Regions from separate parts of the Homo sapiens genome. Here regions 1, 2, 4, 5 and 6 are each linked to region 3. The links are contacts of gene promoters, found by promoter capture Hi-C in human tissues and cell types (Jung and others, 2019). All regions are on one chromosome and are shown on one strand. Each heading gives the region's core, a stretch centred on a gene start or on the middle of the fragment in contact. The rest is flanking DNA. Distances are from core to core; before and after follow the strand shown. Region 1 overlaps PPM1A (protein phosphatase, Mg2+/Mn2+ dependent 1A). Region 2 overlaps PPM1A (protein phosphatase, Mg2+/Mn2+ dependent 1A). Region 3 holds the start of SIX6 (SIX homeobox 6). Region 4 has its middle 2.5 kb from the start of LINC02322. Region 5 has its middle 45 kb from the start of LINC02322. Region 6 has its middle 20 kb from the start of LINC02322.

Region 1 (3,443 bases), core at 534-3,033, 230 kb before region 3:
TTTGCTAGACACTATACTTTGTGCACTGTATACATTATTTTATTTAATCGTCATAAGAATCTTGTAAGGTTAGTGCCTTCTTATATACTTTTTTTTTTGAGACGGAGTCTCGCTCTATCGCCCAGGCTGGAGTGCAGTGATGTGATCTCAGCTTGGCTCAGTGCAACCTCTGCCTCCAGGTTCAAGCCATTCTTCTGCCTCAGCCTCCCAAGTAGCCGGGATTACGGGCATGCGCCACCATGCCTGGCTAATTTTTGTATTTTTAGTAGAGACGGGGTTTCACCATATTGGCCAGGCTGGTCTAGAACTCCTGACCTCATGATCCACCCACCTCGGCCTCCTAAAGTGCTGGGATTACAGGCGTGAGCCACCACACCTGGCTGCCTTCTTATATGCTTATACAGGAACAGATGGAGAAAGAGATTCGGAAAGGTTCAGTAGTCACACTATTACTAAGTAGTAGAGCCAGAATTTAAACCCACATTGGTCTAATTTCATAACTTATTTTCTTTAGTACTTCATGCTATTGGTGAATTCGTAGAGGAAGGAAGTTTGTCATTACTATTCTTTTCTGTTGGTTTGTCTCTTAAATGTGTTTAATTTTTTGAGTTTCACTCACGTCTCTTTTTTTCTTTCCTTTTCTCAAGGTAGTGGAGTCTTTCCTCTGTAAAACTTCACCTTGTTGTTTCTAGTCTAGGATAGTGGTCTTGTAACCTAGGATAGTGGTCTTGGTTACTGCAATTTTGGTTGATTATTTCTTGTTGGCCCTTAATGTGCCCCCATCTTCTGCCTTAGGCATTCCATCTAATCTTTTCCAGCAGTTTGCAACCTTACTGTGCCTCAGAATCACATATGAAAATTTAAAAATCATAGATACCTAGGTTCCAACCCTACCCTGGAAATTCTGATTTGGAAATATTTATTTTTCAAAAAGTCCACAGATAATTCTGTTGCACAGCCATGGTAGAGACCCATTTTCTTAGGGGTTAATGATGCTTTAGAGTCACGCAGACTTGAATCAGAGCCCTGATTCCTTTAAACTTATTAGTTGAGTGATCTTGGCCAAGTTCTTTAATCTTGGCTAAGGTTCTTCATCTATAAATTGGAGATAATATTATTATCTACCTTAGAGAGTTGTTGAAGAGATTAAATGAAGTAATGCTTGTAAAACACTTACCAGAGGGACTTAGAATACTTCTTAAACATTGCCTGCTAATAAGGTGTCATTATTACGTTATCCTTTATCCAATCAAAATACTCACCTTTGCAGTGTGTATCAACTTGATGTCAGAAAAATAATCTGATAAATATCACCATAAGGGATGGATGATAGCTAGTTTTCATTACTTACCTTTCGTTAGTTGAACTGTACTAGGAGGCAGAGGAGTAGGCAGATGGTTTTATCACGCCAATCAGCCAGTCTTTTCTGCCTATGTATCAGTTTGGACCTATAAGGAAAATGAAGGGGAAAACAAATGTTTTTCTTTCCTTCCTAGGAGGATTTTCTTCTTGCCCTTTTTCTCCCAGTTTCCTCTCTGAGCTGAGTATCATTAGCATCATCAATACCCTAGTTTCAGAGCTGCGTAGTGATTTACCTAGATACTTTTCTCCACCATTATTCCCTACTACCTAACTCCTCTTCACCTCCATTAAATCTCTGTTCATCATGCTATCCTTCTTTTGGATTGCCTTTAGTTCAGTTGTGACTTACTTGATTACTTGAACCCAGGTGTCTACATTTCTAAGCTATTGTTCAAGTAAGGGCCAAGGTAAATTCTAACCAGCTGTCTCTTTGCCTTGTGTGGGCCCATTCTAGACCAGCGGGTGTTAACTTTTGAGTATTGGAAAAGGATTAGATTAGCTGAGCCTTCAGGCTTGTCAGCAGGGCTGTCACTAGACCCTTTGATCTTCTTTATATACCTAATGGTCATAGAGTATAATAATAATGGTACATGTTATTACTATATGATTAATAGATTACTAGTAGTAATTTTGTTATATATGTATACAGTACACTTCGTTATGTATATATATAATTGCTTGCAACTTGAAATTTGAGGCTACAACATTTACAGTAATTTAATAACTTAACTGACTTTATCAAAAACTGAAAAACCTCATGGAAAAGGTAGAATGTAAGGTAGACTTAAAAGGATAGGTATACTTTTTTCTATAAATAGGATGAGGCAAGAGTTTCCAGTTAAGGAAACTGACATGAGCAAAGGCTTGAAGGAGCATGCAAATTTGGAGCATTGTGAGTAGATTATTTTTTAGTTTTTCAGAGTTCATGCAGTGGGAATAAAACTAGGGAGTTTGGAATCAAGCTTGAAAATTCCTGAATGTTCAACCAAGATATATTTGAGTTAGTAGATTTTTTGGGTATGTCATGAATTCGTTTGGCTTTTCTTAATTGATATACATACAACTTAGTCCTGAGCTTACACATGTTCATTGTATCATTAAACATTTAGCCTGGTTGGTTTAAGTTGATGGCCACTGCCAGGTCTCCTTTCTGCCTTCTCCCCTTTATCCCAATGCTTTAGTTTTTTTCTGCCTTTTTGTCTGTTGTGATCTGTGCTTCATCAGGCTTTCCCCCAGTTCCTCCTTGTTAATCTCCAGATTCCAAGTCAGCAACACAATGAATGTCTGCTTATCGCGAGTTGTGAATTCCCGCATATCTCTTTCACTTATTAAAAAGATTGTTTGGTACATATTTTGTTTATAAGACAGTTATTGACTTTCCTGTTTCTCTTCCTTTGCAGACCTAGAGGATCAAGACATAATGGGAGCATTTTTAGACAAGCCAAAGATGGAAAAGCATAATGCCCAGGGGCAGGGTAATGGGTTGCGATATGGGCTAAGCAGCATGCAAGGCTGGCGTGTTGAAATGGAGGATGCACATACGGCTGTGATCGGTTTGCCAAGTGGACTTGAATCGTGGTCATTCTTTGCTGTGTATGATGGGCATGCTGGTTCTCAGGTTGCCAAATACTGCTGTGAGCATTTGTTAGATCACATCACCAATAACCAGGATTTTAAAGGGTCTGCAGGAGCACCTTCTGTGGAAAATGTAAAGAATGGAATCAGAACAGGTTTTCTGGAGATTGATGAACACATGAGAGTTATGTCAGAGAAGAAACATGGTGCAGATAGAAGTGGGTCAACAGCTGTAGGTGTCTTAATTTCTCCCCAACATACTTATTTCATTAACTGTGGAGACTCAAGAGGTTTACTTTGTAGGAACAGGAAAGTTCATTTCTTCACACAAGATCACAAACCAAGTAATCCGCTGGAGAAAGAACGAATTCAGAATGCAGGTGGCTCTGTAATGATTCAGCGTGTGAATGGCTCTCTGGCTGTATCGAGGGCCCTTGGGGATTTTGATTACAAATGTGTCCATGGAAAAGGTCCTACTGAGCAGCTTGTCTCACCAGAGCCTGAAG
Region 2 (3,086 bases), core at 11-2,510, 250 kb before region 3:
ATTCTCAGTGAGTCTGAGAAGATAGTCTTAAACACAAGCTAGCTGAGTTTACAATAGAGATTATACTATAAATGGTAACTTCAATGTTTATTGAAAATAAATTCCTTAAAAACAGGTCTTGTTTCATTCATTTAAAGAGATTATCAATATATGACTGTTAAATTTTTATAGTCTCCCTGTTCATTTTCTGATGAACACATGACAGAAAATTGAATGTGAGCTGGAAATACAGCAGACTATGAGAAAGCATGGGTCATGTATAATCACTTTAAATTTAGGCTGGTGTTTTGTATTCATCTATAATATGACCACCTCAGGGAGGGATGTAAGTAAACATTCTTTTTTTAGTTATACTTTAGGTGGCTTAATTATTTTAAAGAATATGTTATTCAAGAATTGTCTATTGTACTGTTTTAAAGAATAAGAATATAATTCATTACCAACTTTGAATGTCTTGGATTCTTAGTACTACCTTTTTCTTTATCATGACTAGTAGGATCACATCATAATTTGGTACTGTGTGTATAAAGATGAAGTGTGCTTACCTTTATTACCAAAATTCAGAAATGAAAATGTGAATGATAAAAGATAAGGGATGGCTATATATTTTTTTGTTTTTGTTTTTCCAAACAGAATCTCATAACTTACCAGGCTTTAGAAAAACATCTTTGCAGTATGCCATCATACCTCAGAATGTTAAGTAGATAGGAAATAAAATTTTCACTTTTTGTAAAGCAGTAGGGTATTATCCTTTCTGACAGCCTGTAAGACTGTTTTGGTTGCCAAGGGGCCAATCTTAGAAGTGGCAGTTTTTGTTTTGTGACCAACCCACAGCTTACCCTTTGTTAGTCCATATCTGTCATCTTCATTTTCTCTTTCTGCGTAAATGCTTCTTGATACAGTAAGCAGGTGTTTCAACTAGTCAGCCATCTAGTGTGATCTTTTCTGGTTTGCTACAGTCAGTAAAATAAGTAGCTCTATAAGTGTAAATAGTATTACTTGTTTTATGTAGTAAAACTCCAAGATTAAGTTAGAGATATTTTTGGCTAGACTACATTGAATGCATTGACAATGGATTTCCCAGCTCCCAGAAATTCGTTTGTGTCTGAATTACTTTATACTTGGCTTATTGTGTAGAGAAAACTTTAGAAAAAGTTCATCCATCCATGAATGTTGAATGAATGAGCAGATTAATAAATAAATAGCTCAGGGAAAGAAAATGTGTGGGCTTTTAGTCATAACTATGTTTTTTCTCTTTTGTTCCCTTCCTTATGTGCCATTTTTCAATAATGGGAGTGTGTATCTAATGATGTTGATAAACTTTTTAAAGTCATTGATGAACAGTAATCTGAAAATCAAGTTTTGATTAAGCCGTAGATTTCTTTTAGGGTCCAATATTTTCTTTTTAGAAATCCACTATGATATTTTTGTAGGGATAAAAGACAACCATGTATTCTATAGATGGAAAATGGTAGGATACAGTTTGTTGGCCGGCCAACTTCTCTGAAAATACTTTTTCCTGCATAGAAGATAATCAGTGTTGACAAGGGAGAAGCCAAGGTATAATGGCTGTTATTCATCTGTCTCATGTATTCGTCAAGTGTCATGTGTTAAATATGAACAAAAAAGACATAATCTCTTTCCTCCTGGATCTTAAAATCTAAAGTGAGAGATAATTCACCAGATAAATGCTGCGATAAGGGAAATAGAGGATTCTATGAGCTTATGACTAAGGATAGATCTGTTTCCTCAGATGTGGAACTAAGAAGTGGCAGTAGTTGAGAAGTTCATTTTGGGCCATGCGATTTGAGGTGTGGCTATTCAAGTATAGGAGGTAGGTGGTTACACATTTTTTAAGCTATTAAATAGAACTTTCACTTGAAAAGGTTTTTTTCTCTCTTTCCTCAGCATCTATCTCCCTACATACACAAAAAAATTGCATGTCACAATTCATGAACTCAGTGAGTGACTCTATTTTGAAAAATGTTAGATTATATCAACTGAAGTCTGTTAGAGGCAAATGCTTTTGGTCATTTTTTTCAGCAGGGACATTTCATATGTGTAAAATATTTAGAATCCCCATGTATTTATATATAAATGAATCTTTTACCATCTTAAATGTTTAATAAGTTATATTTTTCCTTTCTTTCAACTTAAGTATACAAGGTTATCAGCAAACATTTGTAGATGCTCTATGTGAGGTGTTTTGTTTATTAGTTTTAAGGAAGAGAAAAAAGGATGGATTGGATCAGGAAGTCAGTTATTGTTTTCTGGGTTAGTTTGAGTCCAAATCCTCAAATATGCGGCGATTTATAAGTAGCAAACTAGGAATTTAATCCACTTCAGTTTTGGATAACTTGGATAAGACACTTTCTGTCTATAGATCTGTCTATAGATAACTTGGATAAGACAAGTTATCCAAAACTGATAAATCTGAATTAGTTAACAGATGAGGCAAATTGAGATTGTAAATGCTAAAAGATTATTAGAAAACTTTATAAACTAAATAGTTCTATGCCATGTCTTTTTAGTATTTTGCTTGTACTATAATTGTAGTGAAAATAGGTCAGTATCTAATTTTTATAGTCACTAGAGCTCTCCAACTAAATTTAGCTTAGATGTTTTTCTAGCAATTATATACTTACAAAGTTTACTTTTAAAAATTGTGTAATACATGCCTTTATAGAAATTTAAGAAAACGACTTATGGATTATGTACTTCAGATCACAGCACAACTAGAAGATGTTGATACATTACATAAAAAATCAGGAAACCTATGAAGAACATCAAAAGTGGCAAGGTGTGTTCACTTGCACTTTGTGAGATTGAAACTGCTGCCATTATCTGTGCAAACTATGGTTTGAGTACTTTTAATTTAGCAAAGACTAATTATTTTTTAAAAATTTTGGGGTAAAAAAAATGGTCTTTAGCGTAGAAGAGCTTTACCCGACTTACTTTAGTTGGTTCAATTGGTTGATTTTGGTTTGCTTTTTGAAATTTTGTATTGTCTTAATTTGGGGCACATTGAACTCAATAACAGTTCAGTTGCATTATAATTCATTTGGGTAAAGTTTATTGTTGGAGGA
Region 3 (3,227 bases), core at 60-2,559:
ACCTCCCCAAAACGGTTTTCCTGGCGTTTTTGTTATACAGCCCCCTACCAGTTATTTTCTTCAAACTAAACAAACCCCTACCACAGGCCCAGATGAGATCATGGTTTCTTTGACCCAGGCCTCAGAAAATGGTATGATGTGGACTGCCAATTGGGAATCAATAAAAGTTGCCAATTCACTCCACTAGCCCAAAGTCAGAGCCACCAAGCCACTCCTTCCTCACTACAGGAGGGGTCAATAATCAGCGGCTTAGGAAGTGCTTTCTGGGCCCCCGCATTGTCGTGGATGCCCTTCTGTATTGTATTTTTACTGAATTGTTTTTGAGCTAAAATGCCAAGGTTAGAGTTGTTATCCCCAGCTCAAGAGGTATAAGTTCTAACACAAGGTAGGGGCAAAATAAGCCTACAAGGAAAGGAGTTAAGTCGATATTTTAAAAAAGATCTAGGAAATAAGCTTTTAAGTTGCTGTCCTGACCTACCAATGACTTCTCGGCTCTAGATGTGGCTATGCTGCACTTTGTTCAAGTCCATTAAACTGGGGGAGGGGGAGAAAGTATATTTCTCCCCCTTTATTTGGAGGTCCCTACAGCCCACCCTTCTTTTCTTAAAGTGTCTGACTTCGTGGTCTGCATCTGCGTTATCAGACGTGAACATGTCCTTGTTGGCATTTAAAATTATTTTAGTGGGCTTTGAAGGGAGTAAGGCTAGAGTTCAAACTGACCTCTTCTACAGATCCCTGGTCCTGTTCCTGCTGCTCCAGATTTGCTTCCCACTCAGCTGCTTTGGCAACTGGAAAGGGGAAGAGGGAGGCATGCAGAGATGGGTACTTGGGAAAAATGAGAAGATCGCTTCCCCCCACCGGCTTCCTGCTCCCACCGCAAGGTTTGCTGTTTCGTTACAACTAAACTTGCGAATTCTCGGAGCATTTCAGTTTGGCCCAGTCCTCTTTGTCCTCTGGAGACCTCTCGACCGAGACAACGCATCGCCCCAAAGTGAATTCCTGAATTCCTGTGGCATCACTGCCTATTTGGTGGGAAAAAGGGAGGGAGGGGTAGAGCGGGGTGGGGGAGGGAGGAGTAGTGAACGCTGCCGCACTCGCCTCTCTTTTTCTCCCAGACACTCGCATGTCTTTTCAACCTCCAGGTTCTGCAAAATACTGAAGAAAAGTCCAGGAGCTAACGGCGGGCGCTGTCGAGCACGGGGAGGTGCTGAAATAGTCCTGGCGTGCTGATTCAAGCTTTGATTGGCAGAGCCACCCGGTGACTGACAGGGGGTCTCCATGGCGCCCGCGCCGCCAATCCGCCCACCCCAATAGCGGAGCCAGCTCGCCTGCCGGCGTGCCTGAGCCGAGCCGAGCCCGAACCCCAAGCCGCGGAGCCAGCACCTCCTCCAGTCGGGGTCGTCCGCTCCCGGCCGTTGAGCCACCGCCGCCACCCGGTAGTGTGTCCCGCTGCCCCAATCCGCCTCATCAACAAGCGCCTGGCACACTCAGCCAGGCCCGCGGGCATCTGCTGCGTGTCCCGCTCCGGGCTCAGTGCCCTCGCCGCCGCCGGCACTGCCTCGATGTTCCAGCTGCCCATCTTGAATTTCAGCCCCCAGCAAGTGGCCGGGGTATGTGAGACCCTGGAAGAGAGCGGCGATGTGGAGCGCCTGGGTCGCTTCCTCTGGTCGCTGCCCGTGGCCCCTGCGGCCTGCGAGGCCCTCAACAAGAATGAGTCGGTGCTACGCGCACGAGCCATCGTGGCCTTTCACGGTGGCAACTACCGCGAGCTCTATCATATCCTGGAAAACCACAAGTTCACCAAGGAGTCGCACGCCAAGCTGCAGGCGCTGTGGCTTGAAGCACACTACCAGGAGGCTGAGAAGCTGCGTGGAAGACCCCTGGGACCTGTGGACAAGTACCGAGTAAGGAAGAAGTTCCCGCTGCCGCGCACCATTTGGGACGGCGAACAGAAGACACACTGCTTCAAGGAGCGCACGCGGCACCTGCTACGCGAGTGGTACCTGCAGGATCCATACCCTAACCCCAGCAAAAAACGTGAGCTCGCCCAGGCAACCGGACTGACCCCTACGCAGGTGGGCAACTGGTTCAAAAACCGCCGACAAAGGGACCGAGCGGCTGCAGCCAAGAACAGGTCGGTACCTAGAGGCCTCCGCGCTTTGAGCGCACCGGGGAGGAGGCGGGTGGAGGCACCTCTGGCGCCCTTACCCAGTCCCTGGCGACTCCAATTCAGCAGGAGTTGGGAGCGCGGTCTGTCTTGGGTTAAGAGCCCTGCGTTCTGGGCTCCTGGCCGGGAGTTCCCTTGCCGGCTCTGCTTCCCCACCCGCTGGCTCCCCACGCCTGCGGGCAGCTGCAGCAGCTGGTCCCGGTCACCAAACCAAGGCTTCACTGGGACGGAGAGGGGAAGAGAAATAAAAAATTAAAATCCTACAAACAGTTAGGGACCCCAAGACCCAAAGCTAATTCTTGTCAGCCTGGGCACAGGCTCCTACTATTAATCGAAGCCTGGCTTATTAGCAATGTGTCGGTTTCATGTTAATTATCATTTTCAAAGCCCAGGTATATCCCTCCCTAATGCTTTGAAAACAGTTTTCAATGGACTTTTGAGAAATGGGAAGTCGAGTTTTCCTCTTCCCATGCGCTGCCTGCCACTCTTGTCTCAAAACAGCAAACTAGTCCGTGGGCCGAGGCTTTTCGTTTCCCGGAGTGTGGATCTCGATTAGCCAAACATTTTGCGGAAGAGCCCGGCCTCATCCCCCAGGCCCAAATGCTCCTTACAATCCTTTTTGCCTTTAGGTCGGGCCGACCCGATCCAACGCGATCGCGGGAGCACTTGCTCAGGCGTAAGCCCCAGGCAGACGCACCGTTAGAAATGGTATCCCATGTCCCTGGGACCGATCTGTCCTTGTCACCCACACTTCGTTTATTTCCTGACAGTCCTGTAAATCTCCCAAAAGTGCACAACAAACAGGGAGGACACTGCAAGCCCAGTATATAAAAGACCTGGGAGCTGCGGCGCTGAGAAAGGGCGCGAATCATGGTGGGGCACAACAGTAGGGACCCGCGGAGGGGCGGCCGCGGACTCCTGCCCGACCTCTGTCGCCTTGCCGAGTAATCCTCGCCTTAACTGCTGGGGTCTTCGGAAGAACCTCTAGCCGCCGGGCTGGAGGGACGCAGGAGGTGGTGGGGGCGGGCGACGGGCGGCTGTGTTACGAGCTGTGACCCGT
Region 4 (3,126 bases), core at 485-2,984, 180 kb before region 3:
CCAAACACTAAGGAAAACATGAACACACTGCTTATAGCAGCAGGAATATTGACAGAAAATCCCCAATGGCAAACTAGCTTTGTTATCACACTGTTGAGCTTAATGTGGGGACTCTGGAATCAAACGAATGGGTTCCAATCCTGGCTCTGCCACTTTCTAGTTTCTAGAAAGTGTTTCTAGAAACACTAGTTTCTAGTTTAGTTTCAAAGTAGGGCAAGTGTCTTGCCTTCTCTGAGCTCTGTTGTCTTATTTGTAAAATCGGGATAATAATAGTAATTATCTATAAGATTATTGCAAGGATTAAATGAGATAGTACATGTAAAGCCTTTTCATTTAGGCTAACTATAAATATTACTGTGGACATTTTCAAGTTTAAACATTTTTAAATTTTGCTTTACCGACTTGTGCCATCATGTTGACAGCTGAATGGAATCTCTTGACAAAGTGGCTGGTTCTCACTATCTCCAGAATTCAGAGAAACATCTAGGTTCTGAGCTGGCTCAGCTTTGGACCAAATGTTACTAGCATAGATATAGCAGCTCTTACACCCCAGCTGCCACTGCACTTGATCATCTGCCCCATTACACATATGACAACTCTGTTTACTACTAAAGCTATCTTGAAGAAATGGAATTGTGAGAATAGGGATGGTAATGTTGTCCAGAAAAAGTTCTCTCTTTTAAGTTCTCCTATAAATACTTTCCAATTCAAGGAGATACTGTTCATTGTTAAATGTTTTCATCCAAAGCAGTGTTCCTCACCCTGGCTTCCGGTTTGCTTTTTCTTTTTCTTTTCTTTTCTCTCTTTTCTTTTCTTCTGTCTCTTTTCTTTTCTGTCCTTTCTTTCTTTTTTCTTTTCTTTTCCTTTCTTTCTTTCTTTTATTCTTTCTTTCCTTCTTTCTTTCTTTTTTCTTTCTTCCTGCCTTCCTGCCTGCCTTCTTTCCTTCCTTCCTTTCCTTCTTTTCTTTTCTTTTTTGACAGCATCTAACTCTGTTACCCAGGCTGGAGCGCAGTGGTGCATAGCTCACTGCAGCTGCAGTCTCAAACTGCTGGGCTCAAGTGATCCTCCTGGCTCAGCCTCCCAAGTAGCTGGGACTACAGGTGCACACCACCACACCTGGCTAATTTAAACTTTTTTTTTTTTTTTTTTTTAAAGACATGAGGTCTTGCTATGATTCCCAGGCTGGTCTCAAATGCCTGTCCTCAAGAATCCTCCCACTTTGGCCTCCCAAAGTGCTGAGATTATAAGCATGAGCCACTGCACCCGCACTTGGCTTGGTTTTCTTTTCATTGGCTTATGTGGTGGTTGGAGTTATCTCTTTTGCATGTTGACAGGTGTCATAAAGCCATAGGAGACTTTGAGATGGCCTGAAAATAAGATCATGGATTTTTCCTGGCAGAGAGTTTAGTTTACTTTCAAACCCCGCTAGCCTTTGCTACTCAAAGCCTGGTTCATAAAACCAGGGCTTTGACTTCACTTAGATGCTTCTTAGAATTGCAGAATCTCTTGCCCCACAGTCTTGCTCTCTCAGGCTGGAGTACAGTAGCACAATCTCAGCTCACTGCAACTTCCACCTCCTGAATTCAGGTGATTCTGGTGTCTCAGCCTCCCAAGTAGCTGGGATTATAGGCATGCACCATCATACCCAGCTACTTTTTGTATTTTTAGTAGAGACAGGTTTTTGCCATGTTGTCCAGGCTGATCTCAGACTCCTGGCCTCAAGTGATCTGCCCATCTTGGCCTCCCAGAATGCTTGGATTACAGGTGTGAGCCACTGCACCGGCCACAATCTGCATTTTAACAAACTTCCCAGGTGGTGCCAATGACATTAAAGTTGCAGCAGCACTGCTCAGGAGCTGTGCATTGGAATCACCTGGAGTACTTGAAAAACTATTGATGCTCAGGTCCCAACCACAAAGACTCCCCCAACTTAACTGGCATTGGGGTTTTAAAAAATTTCTCCAGGTCATTGTAACTAATGCACAAGGTGAGAACTTGTGCTCAAGAGACATTCTTTCTTCTTCCTCCACTTATTTCTACAATTGCTTTTCTCTTAAAGTAAAAATCTCAAGCTACAGTCAAAGTTCATTTCATGTCCATTTTATAGATAATGCCACACAATGTGAAGATTCATTCTGAATTTAAAAAATAACCTTTACAAATATCTTCTGAACCTTTGCCAAGGTCCCCACATCCCTCTTTTATTGTGAGGTCCAGAACTAGACACAGTCCTCCAGTACAGCCCTCAACATCACTGAACAGCAGCACAAGGGATGTTTGTATTCTTCTGAATGAAAGGTACTGTTATAAAGAAAGTCAGAACATTCGAAGGGGGTGGGGGCGGCTTTGATGGCCAAGCAAAAGATTTCCTCATGCCTACACTCAGTCTGGGAGTGAATGAGCCAGTTACATAAGGAGAAAATCCTCCTTCCTAGTGTTGAGCTTTCCTAATTGGAGGACTAAATGTGTCATTATTTAACTAAATAATTAATAAGCTTTCTTGTAATTCATGGATGACTAAACAGATAAACTCACCTGTACCAAACTTTCAGAGAGAGTTCCACTGATTTAATAAATTTGGTTCATGTCATCAGCATAAAAGTCATCTGAACCTTGAGCCTCAAAGACCAGTGACCTCCAAACTTGACAACTCAACTTATAAGAATCAACTCGGCTGCTTACTAAACATATATAGATGTCTGAGCAAAGGTATTTGTGGTTTTTAAAAAACTACATCAATTCTTCTCAAACTTTAATGGGGGTGGTGATGTGGTGAGGGCAGGTCTTGTAAAAAATTTAGACTCCCATCAACAGGTCTGAGTAGGGCCTGAGATTCTGCATTCCTAACGATCTCAAAAGTGATACCGTGCCGCTACTTCATGGACCACACTTTTAGTGGCAAGGCCCTAGACAATTTTGATAATCAGCCAGTTTGGGAACCAGAACTTGAGGCATCATAAATGTTACCTGAAATATGAAAAAGCTAATCTCCGCCTCAATGTTTATCAGCAGCTCAGGGTGCATCAGTGAGTGTTACACAGACGGATACAAAATGTGGGTGGGCAAATTTAATTTCAAACGGTGGAAGAAACCTTATTGAGAATGTTTAATTATGTTCATGCTCCG
Region 5 (3,408 bases), core at 846-3,345, 140 kb before region 3:
ATTGCAAATACCATGCATCATGACCAAGTTGGGTTCATCTTGAGAATGCAAGGTTGTTTTAACATTAGAAAATCTATAAATGTAATGTACCATATAAGCAGATTAAAAGAGAAAACCCATGTGATCATTGCAATTGATGAGAAAAGTATTTGATAAAATTCAACACCTATTCACAAAAAAAGAATAAAAACTCTCATAGTTTTTATTTGGGATAAATAAGTTTTTAGTTGGGATAAAACGAAGCTTCTTAATCTGATTTTTTTTAAAGATATCTCCAAAAATTTACAGCAAATATCATTTCAAGTGACAAAACATTAGAAGAAGTCATTTTAAAATCAGGAACAAGAAAGAATGTCAACTCTCACCTTGGGGTTTTCAGAGAATCCCTAAGGGCTAACCTCAATATAAGAGGTACCAAATACTCCTACAGTCTAAAGTCAGTTGGTGTGATGCCTATTCAGGAAATGCTAAGAGATTGTGTACTTCTAAAACATCAGCTATTACTCATCTTCTGGCTATATAAAAAAGTACTGAGGGGTTGAAGAGGCTATTAGGGAGTGTTCTTTTGGAGAAAGTAGTTGCTATCTTATGCCTTCCCAAGCTATATGCCTATCTCCTACTGCTACTGCTACACTGCCCCATCCACCATGAGGGAGAGAAGAGCTGGTGCTTCCTCTTAACTTTAAAAAAAGTTGAATCAGGATGGTTTTAGGAGAAGCTCTTGGATATTTTAATATCTGTTTCCTCAGAAAACACTAAACTCTAAAAGTGAATGATCATATTTACAGAGACTTGCACTTACAGAGTTGCACTGGTAGAAAATGGCACTTACACCAATATATTAATATTTCTGATTAATTGACAATCCTCAGAAGGCTGAGCATACTTGAAAGGAACATCTTCTCAAAAGTTTCACACCAAGAGTGCAACAAATTTTTGTTTGTTTGTTTGTTTGTTTTGTTTTGGACAGTCTCACTCTCACCCAGGCTGGAGTGCAGTGGCGCAATCTTGGGTCACTGCAACCTCCACCTCCCAGGTTCAAGCAATTCTCATGCCTTAGCCTCCCAACTAGCTGGGACTACAGGCACGTGCCACCACGCCTAGCTAATTTTTGTATTTTTCTTTTTTTTTTTTTTAGTAGAAATGGGGTTTCACCATATTAGCCAGACCATATTCTGGCCAAACAAATTCTGGCCAGGCTGGTCTCAAAATCCTGGCCTCAAGTAATCCATCCACCTCGGCCTCACAAAGTGCTGGGATTATAGGTGTGAGCACTGTGCTCTGCCAACAAACTTAACATAAAGAAATAAGAGGTGTACTACAGGATGCAGATTTGGGGAGGAGAAATTCTAAATAGTCTGCTTCAGTGGAAGATCCCTAAGACCTACAAACTGTAGTTGGAGTCAGTTCTGATATGTGAGTTTCAAGAACTCAGTCATATATACATACAAAGAGTCTAAAGCCTATCCTTCTCCCTCACTAGATTGTAATCTCTTGAAGAGCAGAGTATATATTCCAGTACATAGTAACCTCATAGTAAGTATTTGTTGAACTGAATAACTGCAGGATGACTGATATTAATGATAGAATAGTAACTACGAATTTGCAAAAATTAAAAAGCATTACCTTCTACAACATAGATGAAAATTATACATCGAAAACCTATTATGATTCCATTACACAGAATTTGTTCTTACCTATAAATAAAACTGCCATTGTCAGAGAGCAAGGAGAATTGACAATGTTTCTGGAACAAATACAAGATTTATATGTGCTTATCATGTATCAGATACTGTTCTAAGTGCTTATGTATATTAACTCAATTAGTGTTCACATAAACCCTATGAGAAAACTAAGACTAAGGAAATATCCTAGGGTCACATAAGCAGGTTTTGAACCCATTCATTACAAAATTTTTTAAACTATTGGTAAAATTTTGAAACATGTAGTTTATTCAAACTGTGTATTTTTTAAACAACCAAAAGACTTAAATCAAATCTCTTATTGTCATATTTTCAAAAGAATTATCACACTTTGGGAGGCCAAGGTGGGCAGATCACTTGAGGTCAGGAGTTCTAGACCAGCCTGGCCAACATGGCAAAACCCTGTTTCTAGTAAAAATACAAAAATTAGCTGGGTGTGGTGGTGCACGCCTGTAATCTCAGCTACTTGGGAGGCTGAGGCAGGAGAATCGCTTGAACCTGGGAGGCAGAGGTTGCAGTGAGCCAAGATGGTGCCACTGCACTCCACCCTGGGTGACAGAGTGAGACCCTGTCACAAACAAACAGACAAAAGAAATGTCAAACTGGGAAGTGGTGTCAGTAAGATGATGAACCAGGAAGCTCCAGGCCTTCCTTCCCCTACAGAGACACCAAGTTAACAACGATATGTGAACCAGAATACCTCTGAGAAATTATGAGACCAGTTGAGATGCTATAACACACAGGCCAATATAAAACCAAGAAGGGATTCAAGTGAAAGGCGATAAGAAAGTTCACATGTTTTGCTTGCTCATCCATGTCCCCTCTCCATGTGGCTTAGCACAATGCAACCAGGAGGAAACCCCTCAAACTCAAGCTACTCCTTCTGGAGTGAATCATGCATCCAGTGTTCTAAGTTGCATGGGAGCCACCAGAGGGACTAGTTTTGGTCTTGCTTGATGGATCAAAGGCATAATTTGGAGGCCAATCAAAACAGAGATAAGCACTGCCATACATTAGAGCTGCAGTTTTGCAGGCAGATGCCAAGGGAAGCAAGAAATCAGAGAAGGTTTGAGAGGCTCTAGAATCTCTAGCTAGGCTGATTGAAGTTCATCTGCACAAAGACTGGGAGTGGTGTTTGCTTTTACAAATACCCAAATCTCAACAAAAGATTATAAGGCATACAAAGAAACAAGAATCATGGCCCAATAGAAAGAAAAATAAAATAAAATTCAGAAACTGATCTTAAAGAAATGCAGAACTATGAGCTGCCTGACAAAGAATTTTAAATAGACCAGGTGCAGTACTTTGCGAGGCCAAGGTGGGTGTGTCATTTGAGCCCAAGAGTTCAAGACTAGCTTGGGCAACATGATGAAAACTCATCTCTGTAAAAAGTACAAAAGTTAGCTTGGTGTGGTGGTGTGCCCCTGTGGCCCCAGCTATTCGGGAGGCAGAGGTGGGAGGATCACCAAAGCCCAGGGAGACTGAGGCTGCAGTGAGCCATGATCTTGCAACTGAAAAATTTTTAAATAACCATCATAAAGATTCTCAATGAGATAAAAGAAAACACATGTCAACAATTAAATGAAATAAAGAAAATAACACATGAACAAAATGAGAATATAAAAAAAGAGATAGAAACTATTTTTTAAAAGAAACAAACAAATTCTGGCACTGAAAAATACAACTGAACTTAAAAAAATTACTA
Region 6 (3,295 bases), core at 349-2,848, 170 kb before region 3:
ATAAAACACCTAGGGATCCAACTTACAAAGGATGTGAAGGACCTCTTCAAGGAGAACTACAAACCACTGCTCAATGAAATAAAGGAGGACACAAACAAATGGAAGAACATTCCATGCTCATGGATAGGAAGAATCAATATCATGAAAATGGCCATACTGCCCAAAGTAATTCACAGAGTCAATGCTATCCCCATCAAGCTACCAATGACTTTCTTCACAGGATTGGAAAAAACTACTTTAAAGTTCATATGGAACCAAAAAAGAGCCCACATTGCCAAGTCAATCCTAAGCCAAAAGAACAAAGCTGGAGGCATCACACTACCTGACTTCAAACTATACTACAAGGCTACAGTAACCAAAACAGCATGGTACTGGTACCAAAACAGAGATATAGACCAATGGAACAGAACAGAGCCCTCAGAAATAATGCCGCATATCTACAACCATCTGATCTTTGACAAACCTGACAAAAACAAGCAATGGGGAAAGGATTCCCTATTTAATAAATGATGCTGGGAAAACTGGCTAGCCATAGGTAGAAAGCTGAAACTGGATCCCTTCCTTACACCTTATACAAAAATTAATTCAAGATGGATCAGAGACTTAAATGTTGGACCTAAAACCATAAAAACCCTAGAAGAAAACCTAGGCAATACCATTCAGGACATAGGCATGGGCAAGGACTTCATGTCTAAAACACCAAAAGCAATGGCAACAAAAGCAAAAATTGACAATTGGGATCTAATGAAACTAAAGAGCTTTTGCACAGCAAAAGAAACTACCAGCAGTGTAAACAGGCAACCTACAGAATGGAAGAAAATTTTTGCAATCTACTCATCTGACAAAGGGCTAATATCCAGAATCTACAATGAACTCAAACAAATGTACAAGAAAAAAACAGCCCCATCAAAAAGTGGGTGAAGGATATGAACAGACAGTTCTCAAAAGAAGACATTTATGCAGCCAACAGACACATGAAAAAATGCTCATCATCACTGGCCATCAGAGAAATGCAAATCAAAACCACAATGAGATACCATCTCACACCAGTTAGAATGGCGATCATTAAAAAGTCAGGAAACAACAGGTGCTGGAGAGGATGTGGAGATTTAGGAACACTTTTACACTGTTGGTGGGACTGTAAACTAGTTCAACCATTGTGGAAGTCAGTGTGGCGATTCCTCAGGGTTCTTGACTAGAAATGCCATTTGACCCAGCAATCCTATTACTGGGTATATACCCAAAGGATTATAAATCATGCTGCTATAAAGACACATGCACACGTATGTTTATTGCGGCACTATTCACAATAGCAAAGACTTGGAACCAAGCCAAATGTCCAACAATGATAGACTGGATTAAGAAAATGTGGCACACATACACCATGGAATACTATGCAGCCATAAAAAATGAGTTCATGTCCTTTGTAGGGACATGGATGAAGCTGGAAACCATCATTCTCAGCAAACTATCGTAAGGACAAAAAACCAAACACCGCATGTTCTCACTCATAGGTGGGAACTGAACAATGAGAACACATGGACACAGGAAGGGGAACATCACACACCGGGGCCTGTTGTGGGATGGGGGGAGCAGGGAGGGATAGCATTAGGAGATATACCTAATGTTAAATGACGAGTTGATGGGTGCAGCACACCAACATGGCACATGTATACATATGTAACAAACCTGCACATTATGCACATGTACCCTAAAACTTGAAGTATAATAAAAAAAAGTTTGTTGTTTTAGTTAAGTGAATATTTAAGCTACAGATTTCCAATAGGCCTGTGTCCATTTTTATTCTTTTTTATGCTTTCATAGAAGCAAAATGTAAACTTAATATTTTTACAAGTTTTGACCATTAATGGCATTATTATTTTTGTACCACAGCCCAAACCGTAAAATTTTACATGATTTCAATCAGTTTCCCCGGCTCTTCTCACTTCTCAGGGCCTTCTTAGGGGCAAGCATGGTTCTATTTGTCAACCTGCCCCATACACTTACCCACAGAATTAAGCATACACTTCTCAGACCCAGTCTCTTTCTGTGCGACATATCTTGAACCACCCCCCTTACCTGGACTCCTTTTGTCTCAGCTCTGTACCACAGCAAAGTGGACTGTGAACAGGAGGCAACTTCCCCTGCTACAAGCTCTGCCTCCTCTCTAAATCTTGAATACCTTGCCCCCATCTCCATCTGTGAAGATCCGAGCCACCTTCCTTGTTAAGAGCCACGATTTTTCTCTGCTTACTCTGTGTCAGGTGTTGTCCTTAGCACATCATAGTGCATCATCTTGTGTAATCCCCACCACAACCTAGGAAGTGGGAAATACCACGATGTATTTTACAGATGGGAATCTAAAGCAGAGAAAAGTAAATTTGCACCAGGTCACGCTGCTGGTGTGTGGGTTGGAGTCAGGACTGAAACCCAGATCTGTGGATTCCATGCCCAAACCACTGTGCTGCTTTAGACCTTTCTCAAGAGCTATCTTAGCCATACAGCTTTGCTTCATTCCCCAACCGGTTTTTACAGATCACACTTTAGAACCGGAGAGTGGAGACTATTTTCTGTTTAATTTCAATGCCCTCTTGCAGCACCTCACACTAGCCCTTTCACATAATGGGAGTTCAGTACATACTTGTTAAATTAAATTTACCTAGAAAACAATTAGTCACAAAACTTCATGGTCTTGACAGTAAACTCAGAAGTTCAGAGACCATGGGCAGTTACAGAAGGCTTATGTGGACGTGGAACTCGGTTAGGCTTTGATTACCTGGGTGGATTTGGTGAGTGAGAAGGAAAGGAGGGTCTACTCCACATGTGGAGATCACCTAAAGGAAGTCAAGGGAGGAGGAAAGATCATGGCATACCAGAGGAACCGTGAAAAAAGCAGTGCCTAGTAGACACAATGACTTAATGTGCTTTGGGGAAGGATATGAGATTGGGCAGATTAAATAGGCTTTATGGATTATGGAACGATTCGAGTGCCAGGCAAAGAACTGTGGGCCTAATGCTTGCTGATGATTTAGATATTCTTCTGTGACATTGTGTTCCTGACATTCATCTATGTGGTGTGTAATTTTAGTTCATTCATTTTTAATACTATATAATATTCCATTGTGTGACTATATCGCAATTTATCTATACTAATATGGTTGAACATTTGGGCTTTTTTCCTAGTTTTTTTACTATTATGAATGTTGCTGCTGTGAATATTCTTTTATGTGTTTCCTAGTGCATATATACCATTTCCCCTTGTGTATATATATATATCTAATGGCTAGGTCGTGTG

What was found. The method cuts DNA at HindIII sites, captures the fragments that hold promoters and counts their contacts. A contact is called where the count stands out against the background at its distance.
Region 1: a fragment that was not itself captured here is called in contact with the fragment with the promoter of SIX6 in region 3 in 2 of the 25 tissues and cell types used here (mesendoderm cells and thymus).
Region 2: a fragment that was not itself captured here is called in contact with the fragment with the promoter of SIX6 in region 3 in 3 of the 25 tissues and cell types used here (H1 embryonic stem cells, IMR-90 fibroblasts and bladder).
Region 4: a contact is called between a fragment that was not itself captured here and the fragment with the promoter of SIX6 in region 3, in 1 of the 25 tissues and cell types used here (mesendoderm cells).
Region 5: a contact is called between a fragment that was not itself captured here and the fragment with the promoter of SIX6 in region 3, in 2 of the 25 tissues and cell types used here (bladder and liver).
Region 6: a contact is called between a fragment that was not itself captured here and the fragment with the promoter of SIX6 in region 3, in 1 of the 25 tissues and cell types used here (thymus).

Annotation. Positions count from the first base shown.
Region 1 is chr14:60,279,922-60,283,364 of GRCh38, forward strand. It overlaps PPM1A (protein phosphatase, Mg2+/Mn2+ dependent 1A), which reads left to right. Exons shown (of 6, transcript NM_021003.5): 2 at 2,763-3,443. The coding sequence starts at 2,783. Among named protein-coding and RNA genes, the nearest start is that of PPM1A, 32 kb to the left of the region's middle. RefSeq lists an enhancer at 2,360-3,443. The HindIII fragment of the contact is 7,012 bases long and covers 1-3,443 here.
Region 2 is chr14:60,257,211-60,260,296 of GRCh38, forward strand. The region is part of intron 1 of PPM1A (protein phosphatase, Mg2+/Mn2+ dependent 1A); the gene reads left to right. Among named protein-coding and RNA genes, the nearest start is that of PPM1A, 9.5 kb to the left of the region's middle. The HindIII fragment of the contact is 8,153 bases long and covers 1-3,086 here.
Region 3 is chr14:60,507,837-60,511,063 of GRCh38, forward strand. SIX6 (SIX homeobox 6) reads left to right here and starts at 1,310. Exons shown (of 2, transcript NM_007374.3): 1 at 1,310-2,134. The coding sequence starts at 1,563. It also overlaps a transcript of C14orf39 not described here. RefSeq lists an enhancer at 3,178-3,227. The HindIII fragment of the contact is 5,424 bases long and covers 1-3,227 here.
Region 4 is chr14:60,324,178-60,327,303 of GRCh38, forward strand. No RefSeq gene overlaps it. Among named protein-coding and RNA genes, the nearest start is that of LINC02322, 2.5 kb to the left of the region's middle. The HindIII fragment of the contact is 3,430 bases long and covers 20-3,126 here.
Region 5 is chr14:60,366,720-60,370,127 of GRCh38, forward strand. No RefSeq gene overlaps it. Among named protein-coding and RNA genes, the nearest start is that of LINC02322, 45 kb to the left of the region's middle. The HindIII fragment of the contact is 7,405 bases long and covers 1-3,408 here.
Region 6 is chr14:60,341,421-60,344,715 of GRCh38, forward strand. No RefSeq gene overlaps it. Among named protein-coding and RNA genes, the nearest start is that of LINC02322, 20 kb to the left of the region's middle. The HindIII fragment of the contact is 4,956 bases long and covers 1-3,295 here.